Regions from separate parts of the Homo sapiens genome. Here all the other regions are linked to region 1. The links are contacts of gene promoters, found by promoter capture Hi-C in blood cells and fetal thymus (Javierre and others, 2016). All regions are on one chromosome and are shown on one strand. Each heading gives the region's core, a stretch centred on a gene start or on the middle of the fragment in contact. The rest is flanking DNA. Distances are from core to core; before and after follow the strand shown.

Region 1 (3,454 bases), core at 532-3,031:
GTGCTGGGATTACAGCCGTGAGCCACCGTGCCCCACCATCTCTCTATCTCTGTCTATCCTACTCTCTCATCTCTGTCTCTCTGTCTCTGTCTCTCATCTTCCCATCTGTGTCTCTCTTTCTCTGTCTTCCTCCCTTATCTCTGTCTCTGTGTCTCTCTCATTTCCCTATCTCTGTCTTCCTCTCTTATCTCTGTCCCTCTGTCTCTCTTCCTCTGTCTGTCTGCTCTCTGTGTTTCTCTTTCTGTTTCCATCATCTCCCTGTCTCTCTCTGTCTCTGTGTCCTCCTCCTCTCATCTCTGTCTCTGTCTCTCTCATTCCCCTGTCTCTCTCTGTCTCTATCATCTCCCTATCTATCTCTGTGTCCTCCTCCTCTCATCTCTGTCTCTCTCTGTGTTTCTGTCTCTGTCATCCCCCTTTCTCTGTCTCTGTCATCTCCCTGTCTCTCTATCTCTGTGTCCTCCTCCTCTCGTCTCTGTCTCTCTGCCTCTCTCATCTGTATCTCTCTCTGTCTCTGTCATCTCCCTGTCTCTGTCTCTCTCTATCTCTGTGTCCTCCTCTCATTTGTCTCTCTGCCTCTCTCATCTGTATCTCTGTCACTTTCTCTGTCATCTCCCTGTCTCTCTATCCCTCTATCTCTGTGTCCTCCTCTCATCTGTCTCTCTGCCTCTCTCATCTGTAGCTCTCTCTGTCTCTGTCATCTCCCTGTCTCTCTATCCCTCTATCTCTGTGTCCTCCTCTCATCTGTCTCTCTGACTCTCTCATCTTTGTCTCTGTCTCTGTCTCTGTCATCTCCCTGTCTATCTCCGTGTCCTCCTCCTCTCATCTCTGCCTTTCTCATCTCTGTGTCTCTCTCTGTGTTTCTGTCTCTGTCATGCCCCTTTCTCTGTCTGTCATCTCCCTGTCTCTATCTATCTCTGTGTCCTCCTCCTCTCATCTCTGTCTCTCTCATCTGTATCTCTCTCTGTCTCTGTCGTCTCCCTGTCTCTCTATCTCTTTGTCCTCTTCCTCTTGTCTTTCTCTCTGCCTCTCTCATCTGTGTCTCTCTCTGTCTCTGTCTCTGTCATCTCCCTGTCTCTGTCTCTCTCTCTCTGTGTCCTCCTCCTCTCGTCTCTTTCTCTCTGCCTCTTTCATCTGTGTCTCTGTGTCTCTCTGTCATCTCCCTGTCTATCTCTGTGTCCTCCTCCTCTCGTCTCTGTCTCTCTGCCTCTTTCATCTGTGTCTCTCTGTCTCTGTCTCTGTCATCTCCCTGTCTCTGTATCCCTCTATCTCTGTGTCCTCCTCTTCTTGTCTCTGTCTCTCTGCCTCTCTCATCTGTGTCTCTCTCTGTGTCTCTGTCTCTGTCATCTCCCTGTCTCTCTGTGTCTTCCTTCTGTCTTCTCTGTCTCTCTGCCTCTCTCCCCCATCTCTGCCTCTGTCTCCCTCCATGTCCCTGAGCCCCTGCCTGCCTGCCTGGGGTTTCCCCCGCTTCAGGGCAGCGGAAGGAAGGCCAGCAGGACATGCTGTGCTGGGAAAAGCCAGCAGGTCTCCACTTCTCCCTTTCACAGCCTCCTCCCCCGCCCCCACCCTCGGGGCCTTCCGAGCAGGGGTGGCCTGTGCTCCCCAGGGGGCTGGGGCTCCTCCACACCCTAATTCATCTCCCTAGCGGCCCCACGAGCCCCACCAGTGAGTCAGACCTGAAGGAAGTCGGGGAGGGGGCGGGCCTTGACCCTGGGCTGGGCTTTCCCCTGGGCAGGTCCCAAGTCCTCACCTCCCCTCTCAAGTCTCCCACGACGTTCCCACCCACTCCTGAGAGCAGAGCTGGCCGCAGCCATGACCCCGCAGCTTCTCCTGGCCCTTGTCCTCTGGGCCAGCTGCCCGCCCTGCAGTGGAAGGAAAGGTATGTGGGGCCCCTGGGGGACTGGGGGGCCCAGGCAGACGGACATGACACGAGGACTGGCCTCGGATCATGTCTGGGGTGGGAAATCACATCCTCCCGTGCCCAATGGTGGGATGGGGTTACCCTCCCATTGTACAGATGGAGGAACTGAGGCACAGAGAGGCAGAGTGCCACATTGGGGGTGGAAGGATGTCACCTTGTGGGTGATAGGGACTGGCAGTCACAGCTCAGAGGTATCCATAGAGCTACACAGACATAGCTACACAGACATGCGAATTTGAGTCACACTCATTCCTTTGGTTTCTTTTTGGTTTTGTTTTTTGAGACAGAGTCTCACTCTGTCGCCCAGGCTGGAGTACAGTGGCACCATCTCAGCTCACTGAAACCTCCATCTCCTGGGTTCAAGCGAGATTCTCCTCCCTCAGCCTCCCGAGTAGTTGGGATTACAGGTGCCCGCCACCATGCCCGGCTACTTTTTATATTTTTAGTAGAGATAGGGTTTTACCATGTTGGCCAGGGTGGTCTTGAACTCCTGACCTCAGGTGATCCACCCACCTCGGGCTCCCAAAGTGCTGGGATGACAGATGTGAGCCACCGCGCCCGGCCGACATTCATTCATTTTGCACTAGAGAACATCTCCATGTCCTTGAAGACAAAATGGTTACAGCAGGGCATGGTGGCTCATGCCTGTAATTCCAGCACTTTGGGAGGCCAGGGCGTGAGGATCGTGAGGCCAGGAATTCGAGACCAGCCTGGGCAACATAGTGAAACCGGACCCCACCAATCTGTACAAAAAATTAAAAAATTAGCTAGATGTGGTGGCACGTGCCTGTAGTCCCAGCTACTTGGGAGGCTGAGGTGGGAGGATAATTTGAGCCCAGGAATTGGAGGCTGCAGTGAGCTATGATTGTGCCACTGCATTCCAGCCTAGGTGACAGAGTGGGATACCTTGTCTCAAAATAATAATAATAATAATAATTTATAGGCTGGGTTTGGTGGCTCACGCCTGTAATTCCAGCACTTTGGGAGGCCAAGGCAGGTGGATCACCTGAGGTCAGGAGTTTGAGACCAGCCTGGCCAACATGGTGAAACTCCCTCTCTACTAAAAATACAAAAATTAGCCAAGCGTGGCAGTACATGCCTGTAATCCCAGCTACTCGGGAGGCTAAGAATCGCTTGAACCCGGGAGGCGGGGGTGGCAGTGAGCCGAGATCTCGCCACTGCACTCCAGCCTAGGCGACAGAGGGAGACTCCCTCTTTAAAAAAAAAAAACAATTACAAAAGAGAGAACACGGTAAAATCTCTCTCTCTTACCCGAGTTCCTCTCTGTAGATGCTTAAACCTCAGCTTCCCTATCTGGAAAATGGGCTAGTAGTCCTCACCTAGATGGATTGCAGTGGGGATAAAAGATGACAGATGACTTTTGTCCATGTACCTATTTATTCCGAAAGCCTTTATTAGGCACCTACCATGTACCTGGTGCTGGCTGGCAACGTGGCAGGAGCCCAGCGCACGGGAGGGCTATGACAATCTGGGGGTAAACCAGAAGCTCACTCTTTCTGTCTTCCTCCAGGGCCC
Region 2 (3,454 bases), core at 516-3,015, 400 kb before region 1:
GTCTCGAACTCCTGGGCTCAAGCGATCTACCGGCTTCGGCCTCCCAAGGTGCTGGGATTACAGGCATGAGGCACTGCACCCAGCCAGTAGGCTGTCTTTGTGCACTTTTGGCGTATACTGCAGTAATTAGCCACGTGGGCTTCAACACATCTTGGTTTGATTTCTGCCTGGGTCACTAAAACTGACTCTGAGTTCCTCAAAGTACTGACCCTTTCTGAGCCTCTGGGATTTTATCTGCCACACAGAGATGGTAGCCACAAGGCAGATATAAGGATTAAATAACCCACACGGGCCTGGCGCAGGGACTCAGCTTGTCATCCTGGCACTATGGGAGGCTGAGGCAGAAGAATTCCTTGAGCTTAGGAGTTCGAGACCAGCCTGGGCAACATAGTGAGACCCTGTATCTACAAAAAAATTTTTTTTTAAATAGCCAGGCATGGTGGTGTGCACCTGTAATCCCAGCTACTCAGGAGGCTGAGGTAGGAGGATCGCTTGGGCCCAGGAGTTCGAGACTGGACCTGGGCGACATAGTGAGACCCCATCTCTATTGAAAATTTAAAAAATTAGCTGGGCATGGTGGTTCGTACCTGTCTCAGCTACTTGGAAGGCTGAGGGGAGGATCACTTGAACCCAGGAGGTGGAGGCTGTAGCGAGCTGTGATTGTACCACTGCACCCTAGCCTGAGCAACAGAGCGAGACTTTGTCTCCAAAAGAAACTCAAACTTCTATGCGAGCACTCTGCAAAGAAGGCCGGGGTCTCTCCCAGCATGAGACACAGTGGAGAGCTGCTGGAGGAAAGAGTCTGAGACAGGGAAAGGGTGATCTGGGGCGGGAGGGGTCCTGAGCAGGGACCGGCCCCCCATCCCCAGCTGGGTCAGGGGTCCTGATAACGGTGTCCTGAGCCTTCTCACACCTCTCCAGAGTCTGCGATTGCAGACTCCGTGTCTCTCCGCGGTCCAGAGCTTCCTTTCAGAGTATTAAAAACAAAAGAAGATCAGGGTGTGTGTTTTGCAAAGACAGAGCTCTAGGGTCTAATTATCTTTCCAGGAATTGAGCCCACGATCTCAGCTGGGTGATTTGCAAGCTTTAAAATCTCAAGCTCGTGTGTTTGGTAAAGATTCTTTCACGTATGTCCCAAACAAGCACTGCCAAGCACAAGCACGCATGCACACACACACACGGGCGCATGCACACACATACACATGCAGGCATACATGCGCACACATACACACACGCACACACATGCACACACATACACACACGCTTGCACACACAGGCACATGCAGGCACACATGCGCACACATACGTGCAAGCACACATACATGCACACTCACGTTTGCACACACATATGCACACATATACACATGCATAAACACACGCACACATACACACTCACACTTGCACACACACACAAGCGCTTGCACACACAGGCCATGCATACAACATGCAAGTTAACACCAGACCTTCTTTCAGCAGGCAGCGACCCTGACCACCCCACCGGCGCCCACATTCGGGTTCAGACGTTGGGGACAGAGAGGTCCCTGGGGCCTGCCCATGGCAGGAGGGCGACTGACCTGGGGGCCAGCGCAGCTGATCTTGCAGATGTCGCAGTAGTGAAGCTGGAGCTGCCTGGGCCCCGCCTTGGGTCTCGGCAGCTTGCTGGGAAGCGGTGGCTTCGAGTCGGCCCTGGGGCTGCTTCCTGAGCCTGCAGGCGCGGGCGGCGGGGGCAGCTGCTGCGGGGGTCCCGGGGGAGGCGGGGGCTGCGCTGGAGGATAGAAAGGGCTGGCAGCGGAGTACACCGACGCGTCATAGTTCGGGTAGCTTGGTGCTGAGCAGCAGAGAAAACAATGAGTCGGGGGGAGATGCTGATTCCACTGAGTTGAAGTGGGGACCGACGGGCAGACCACCTGGGCAAGGAACGCTGGTCTTACCCGTGTAGGCGGTGCAGGTGGGGTTGTAGGAGGGCGGGGGGTAGGAGGTCACGATGGAAGCTGACGACTCGGGCTGGACGCCTGTCGCCGTGGGGTAGGTGTATCCCGAGGACAAGGTGCTCGCTGGCTGTCCGGACTCCACTATGGGCGCCTGCTGTGGGGGCTGAGCGTGGCTGTGACTGCCATGGGGGCTGGGCTGCCCGCAGGCTTCTTGGGTCCCTAGGGGACAGGGACAGGCCCTCTGCAGAGCCAACCCCCACCCCACTGTCCCTCACCTGCAGATGGGCCCTGGACTCAACTGGCTGGAACACGCTAGATGCTTAAGCCAGGACCAGAGGCCAGAGCCTTGGGCCAGGTGCTGGCAGCGACTCGCAGGTTACCTTGTGCCCACCTCTCCTTTCCAGAGCCCGGCTTCTCTCTCCTGCCATGGGGGAGGAGGGCTGTGGGTGCCCTAGACAAGCTCCTCTGCATCTCCAGCTCCATCACCCACAGAGCTCACCTCCTGCCACCCCGGGAAAGCTTCCTTGGAAAAAATGTTAGCTGCATTTTCAGTCCTCACTTTCCTTCATTCATAGGCCCACACCTGGCAGAGATCCCAGGGCCCATCTGAGCAGCCAGCTCTGAGGCTCACCTGCAAATCTAGGATGTTTTTATTATCATTATTATTATTTTTTTTTTTTTGAGTCGGAGTCTTGCTTTGTCACCAGGTTGGAATGCAGTGGCATGATCTCGGCTCACTGCAACCTCCACCTTCCAGGTTCAAGTGATTCTCCTGCCTCAGCCTCCCGAATAGCTGGGATTACAAGCATGCGCCACCCTGCCCGGCTAATTTTTCTATTTTTAGTAGAGATGGGGTTTCACCATGTTGGCCAGGATGGTCTCGATCGCTTGACCTTGTGATCCACCCGCCTCTGCCTCGCAAAGTGCTGGGATTACAGGCGTGAGCTGCTGCACCCGGCCTTTATTTTGTTTTTTTTTTTTATTTTTTATTTTTTAGAGACAGGGTCTTGCTCTGCTGCCCAGGCTGGAGTGCAGTGGTGCGATCACAGCTCACTGCAGCTCAGTTCCTGGGCTCAGGCGAACCTCCTACCTCAGCCTCCTGGGTAGCTGGGACTACAGGTGCACACCACCATGCCTGGCTAATTTTTTTGCATTTTTTGTAGAGACGGGGGTCTTACTATGTTGCCCAGGCTGGTCTCGAACTCCTAGGTTCAAGCAATTCTCCCACCTCGGGCCTCCCAAAGTGTTGGGATTACAGGCGTGAGCCACCGTGCCCGGCCTCTAGGATGGTTAACATGTAACTTTCACGGGGTGCAGTGGCTCACGCCTGTAATCCCAGCACTTTGGGAGGCCGAGGCAGGTGGATCACCTGATGTCAGGAGTTCAAGACCAGCCTGGCTAACATAGTGAAACCCCGTTTCTACTAAAAATAGAAAAAAATTAGCCAGGCATGGTGGCGCGTGCCTGCAGTCCCAGCTACTTGGGAGGCTGAGGCAGGAGGATTGTTTGAACCTGGGAGGCAG
Region 3 (3,454 bases), core at 616-3,115, 380 kb before region 1:
ATTTGTAAAAAAGAATCATATAGCATAACTTCTGCCACATTCCATTAATTAGAAGCGAATCACCGAATCCGACCTGCACACACGGGGAGAGGCTCAGGCCTCACCTTTTGAAGGAAGGCATAGGGAACAATTTGCAGACGTATTTCTAGACTGCCTCACGTTGTTTCCAATCTTTCGCCATTAAAGCAATGCTCCAAGGCTTATTCTAGAGTGGCTTCTTGTCCTGCCTGAGCCCTACACCACCCACAAGGCACTAAGAGTCAACGGCAAAGAGGCCGGGAGAGCTGATTTAGAATCATCAGGCTCCACTCCTGGAGCCGGGACCACCCTCTCCTGAGACATACAGGAGAGGGGCGGAGTCCAAACCAAGCTGGCCAGAAGACAGGACAGGATGGAGACTGGGAGGACACCCACAGGCCCTCTCTTTGGTTTTGTACAATCTACAGAGCTCAACAAGAGGGTATGATCGGCCCAAGATATAGTGCAGGGGCAGGGAAATCCAAGTACGGTTGCAGCTCTAGAGCCCTTTGGACTGAGACCTGCTGCCTCTTTTGTATAAAAAGCTTTCATGGCTGGGCACAGTGGCTCACGCCTGTAATCCCAGTACTTTGGGAGGCCGAGGCAGGTGGATCACCTGATGTCAGGAGTTCGAGACCAGCCTGGCCAACATGGTGAAACCCCGTCTCTGCTAAAAATGCAAAAATTAGCCAGGCATGGTGGCGGGCGCCCGTAATCCCAGCTACTTGGGAGGCTGAGGCAGGAGGATCGCTTGAATGGGGGAGGTGGAGGTTGCAGTGACCCAAGACTGTGCCATTGCACTCCAGGCTGGGCAATAAGAGCGAAACTCCATCTCGGAAAAAAGCTTTCATGGCCAGGTGTGGTGTCTCACACCTGTAATCCCAGCACTCTGGGAGGCCAAGATGGGAGGATCTCTTGAGCCCAAGAGTTTAAGACCAGCCTGGGCAACATAGCAAGATCCCATCTCTACAAAACAGAAAAATTAGCCAGGCATGGTGGTGCACCTGCAGTCCCAGCTCCTCAGGAGGCTGAGGCAGGAGGATTTCTTGAACCTAGTAGGTTGAGATCACACCACTGCACTCCAGCCTGGGCAACAGAGCAAGACCCCATCTCTTAAAAACACAAAGTGTTAGGCTGGGCGCGGTGGCTCACGCCTGTAATCCCAGCACTTTGGGAGGCTGAGGTGGGCGGATCACGAGGTCAGGAGATCGAGACCATCCTGGCTAACACGGTGAAACCCCGTCTCCACTAAAAATACAAAAAAAAATTAGCCAGGTGTGGTGGCGGGCACCTGTAGTCCCAGCTACTCAGGAGGCTGAGGCAGGAGAATGGCATGAACCCCGGAGGCGGAGCTTGCAGTGAGCCGAGATCACACCACTGCACTCCAGCCTGGACAACAAAGCGAGACTCCGTCTCAAAACAAAACAAAACAAAACAAAACAAAAACCAAACAAACAAAAACACAAAGCGTTCAGTACTAGATAGTAAATCGTGAGTAGCTTTCTGGGGAGGAAGCTCCATTCTTCTCTGGCTTCCCTGGGTCCTGAGACCTTGCCCCTCCAACCTGGAGGCCCAGGCGTGCTGAGCAGCACCAGCAGAGGGCTGTGGGGGCAAGTGAACCTCAGGTGGAAGGCTGAGCAGAGTCCTTCAGCCCAGGACCCCAAGGAAGGAGCAGGAACCTGTGGGGCTTTCTCTATCTGCTCCTGCTGTGCCTCCGCACACAGCTTTGTCTCCACCTGGTGGACACCCCACCTAAGAGGACAGTGGAGGCGGCTGGTTGGTGAACTGGCTCCATGGCAGAGATCAGACAGCCCATGCAGCAGAGGGCAGAGCTTTCCAACTCAGGCCCTTCTGACATTTGGGACAACATTGTTCTCTGGGGTGGGGCCGTTCTGGGCCCTGCAGCGTGCTGAGCAGCGTCCCCAGCCTCCACCCACTCCATGCCAGGAGCTCCCCCAAATCGTGACAATGACAAATGTTCCCAGACCTTGACCAGTTAAGAACTGATGGTCTAGGACAAGCTCAATGCCAGGGCGTAGCCTTGTGCAGGTGGACAGAGCCAAAGGCTGCTTCCTGCCTGGTTCAGCCCATACTCTGGAAGGATCCCCAGGATGTTGTAGGCTGGCCTCTGACTTGGAGTCAGGCTTGAGTCAGCACCATGAAGACAGTGAATGAAAAAGAACACGCTCTTCTTGTAGACAACCCTGAACAGCAATGCTCAGGCACGCTACAGTTTGGAATCCACTGAGCCAGGGCGCAGGGAAAATGGATGTGCGACCAACATGCAGATGGCTGGACGTCCGCTGGCTGAGGGCAGGTCTCAGCATCCCTGCTGGCCTGCAGGGCAACTCCCACTGGTTTCAGTGTTACACCCTGTGAACGTCACAGCTGTGAGCAGACTGAGGACCTGTGAGGGATACAGGGTCAGGGTGACATCAGGCAAGATACCCTTGACCTCGCCGCAGGTCCCCACCCTGTCCCGCCACTCTGCTGTCTGATGGCAGGAATGGAGTGCCTCTCCTACACAGATAACAGAGACGCGGGGGCAGAGGCAGCGAAACCCAGGCACCCTCTGGGAGAAGGAGGGGCATGCCAACTGCTCTGAAGACCCAGGAGGCTCCCCCAGAGGCTGGAAAAGCCCCGGGGAAGGGTGCCTGGGATTTCAAAGAGGAGGGGCTCGCTGAGAGGAGCGTGGGAGAAATGAGGAGTGCTGGTGGGGCGACTGTCCTGGGTGCTGAGGGACAGAGGTTATCAGGGTGAGGGGTGACGGGAGGCAGCTCAGGGCTCTCCAGTGCCAGGTAGAACCTGGGATTTATCCTCAGCCATGAGGAGCCACCTGGGCATCTCATGACAAGCTTTGGCCTGAATTACGTCCCCCTGCCCCCAATTCTTATGTTGAAGCCCTAACCCCCATGTGACTGTATTTGGAGATGAGGCCTTCAGGGAGGGAATGAAGGTTATATGACGTCATCAGGTGGGGACTGATCTGAGCAGAACTGGGGTCCTTATAAGAAAAGGAAGAGGCCGGGCACAGTGGCTCACACCTCTAATCCCAGCACTTTGGGAGGCTGAGGCAGGAGGATCACTTGAGCCCAGGAGTTAGACATCAGCCTGGGCAAGATACTGGGATCCCATCTCTACAGAAAAACAACAACAACAACAACAACAACAACAAAACAAACACACACAAAAAAACCACACTTTGCGCCTGTGGATCCTTGGGAGGCTGAGGTGGGAGGCTCGATTAAGCTCAGGAGATTGAGGCTGCAGTGAGCTGTGATCTCACCACTGCACTGCAACCTGGATGACAGGGCAGTCTTTTCAAAAAAAAAAAAAAAAAAAAAAAGAGACACCAGCAGTGCACATGGACAGAGAAAAAGCCACAGGAGGACACTGTGAGGAGGTGGCCATCTGAAAGCCAAGGAGAGAGCCCTCA

What was found. The method cuts DNA at HindIII sites, captures the fragments that hold promoters and counts their contacts. A CHiCAGO score of 5 or more calls a contact.
Region 2: a contact is called between a fragment that was not itself captured here and the fragment with the promoter of EBI3 in region 1, in 1 of 17 cell types (erythroblasts). The highest score is 5.4, in erythroblasts.
Region 3: a fragment that was not itself captured here is called in contact with the fragment with the promoter of EBI3 in region 1 in 1 of 17 cell types (erythroblasts); the score reaches 5.1 in erythroblasts.

What each region holds. Positions count from the first base shown.
Region 1 is chr19:4,227,742-4,231,195 of GRCh38, forward strand. It overlaps EBI3 (Epstein-Barr virus induced 3), which reads left to right and starts at 1,782. Exons shown (of 5, transcript NM_005755.3): 1 at 1,782-1,876; 2 at 3,450-3,454. The coding sequence starts at 1,810. RefSeq lists enhancers at 2,002-2,091, 3,055-3,454. The HindIII fragment of the contact is 27,046 bases long and covers 1-3,454 here.
Region 2 is chr19:3,829,729-3,833,182 of GRCh38, forward strand. It overlaps ZFR2 (zinc finger RNA binding protein 2), which reads right to left. Exons shown (of 19, transcript NM_015174.2): 4 at 1,932-2,150; 5 at 1,575-1,828. Among named protein-coding and RNA genes, the nearest start is that of ZFR2, 38 kb to the right of the region's middle. RefSeq lists an enhancer at 1,525-2,114. The HindIII fragment of the contact is 1,366 bases long and covers 1,083-2,448 here.
Region 3 is chr19:3,847,560-3,851,013 of GRCh38, forward strand. The region is part of intron 1 of ZFR2 (zinc finger RNA binding protein 2); the gene reads right to left. Among named protein-coding and RNA genes, the nearest start is that of ZFR2, 20 kb to the right of the region's middle. RefSeq lists an enhancer at 1,966-2,467. The HindIII fragment of the contact is 2,011 bases long and covers 861-2,871 here.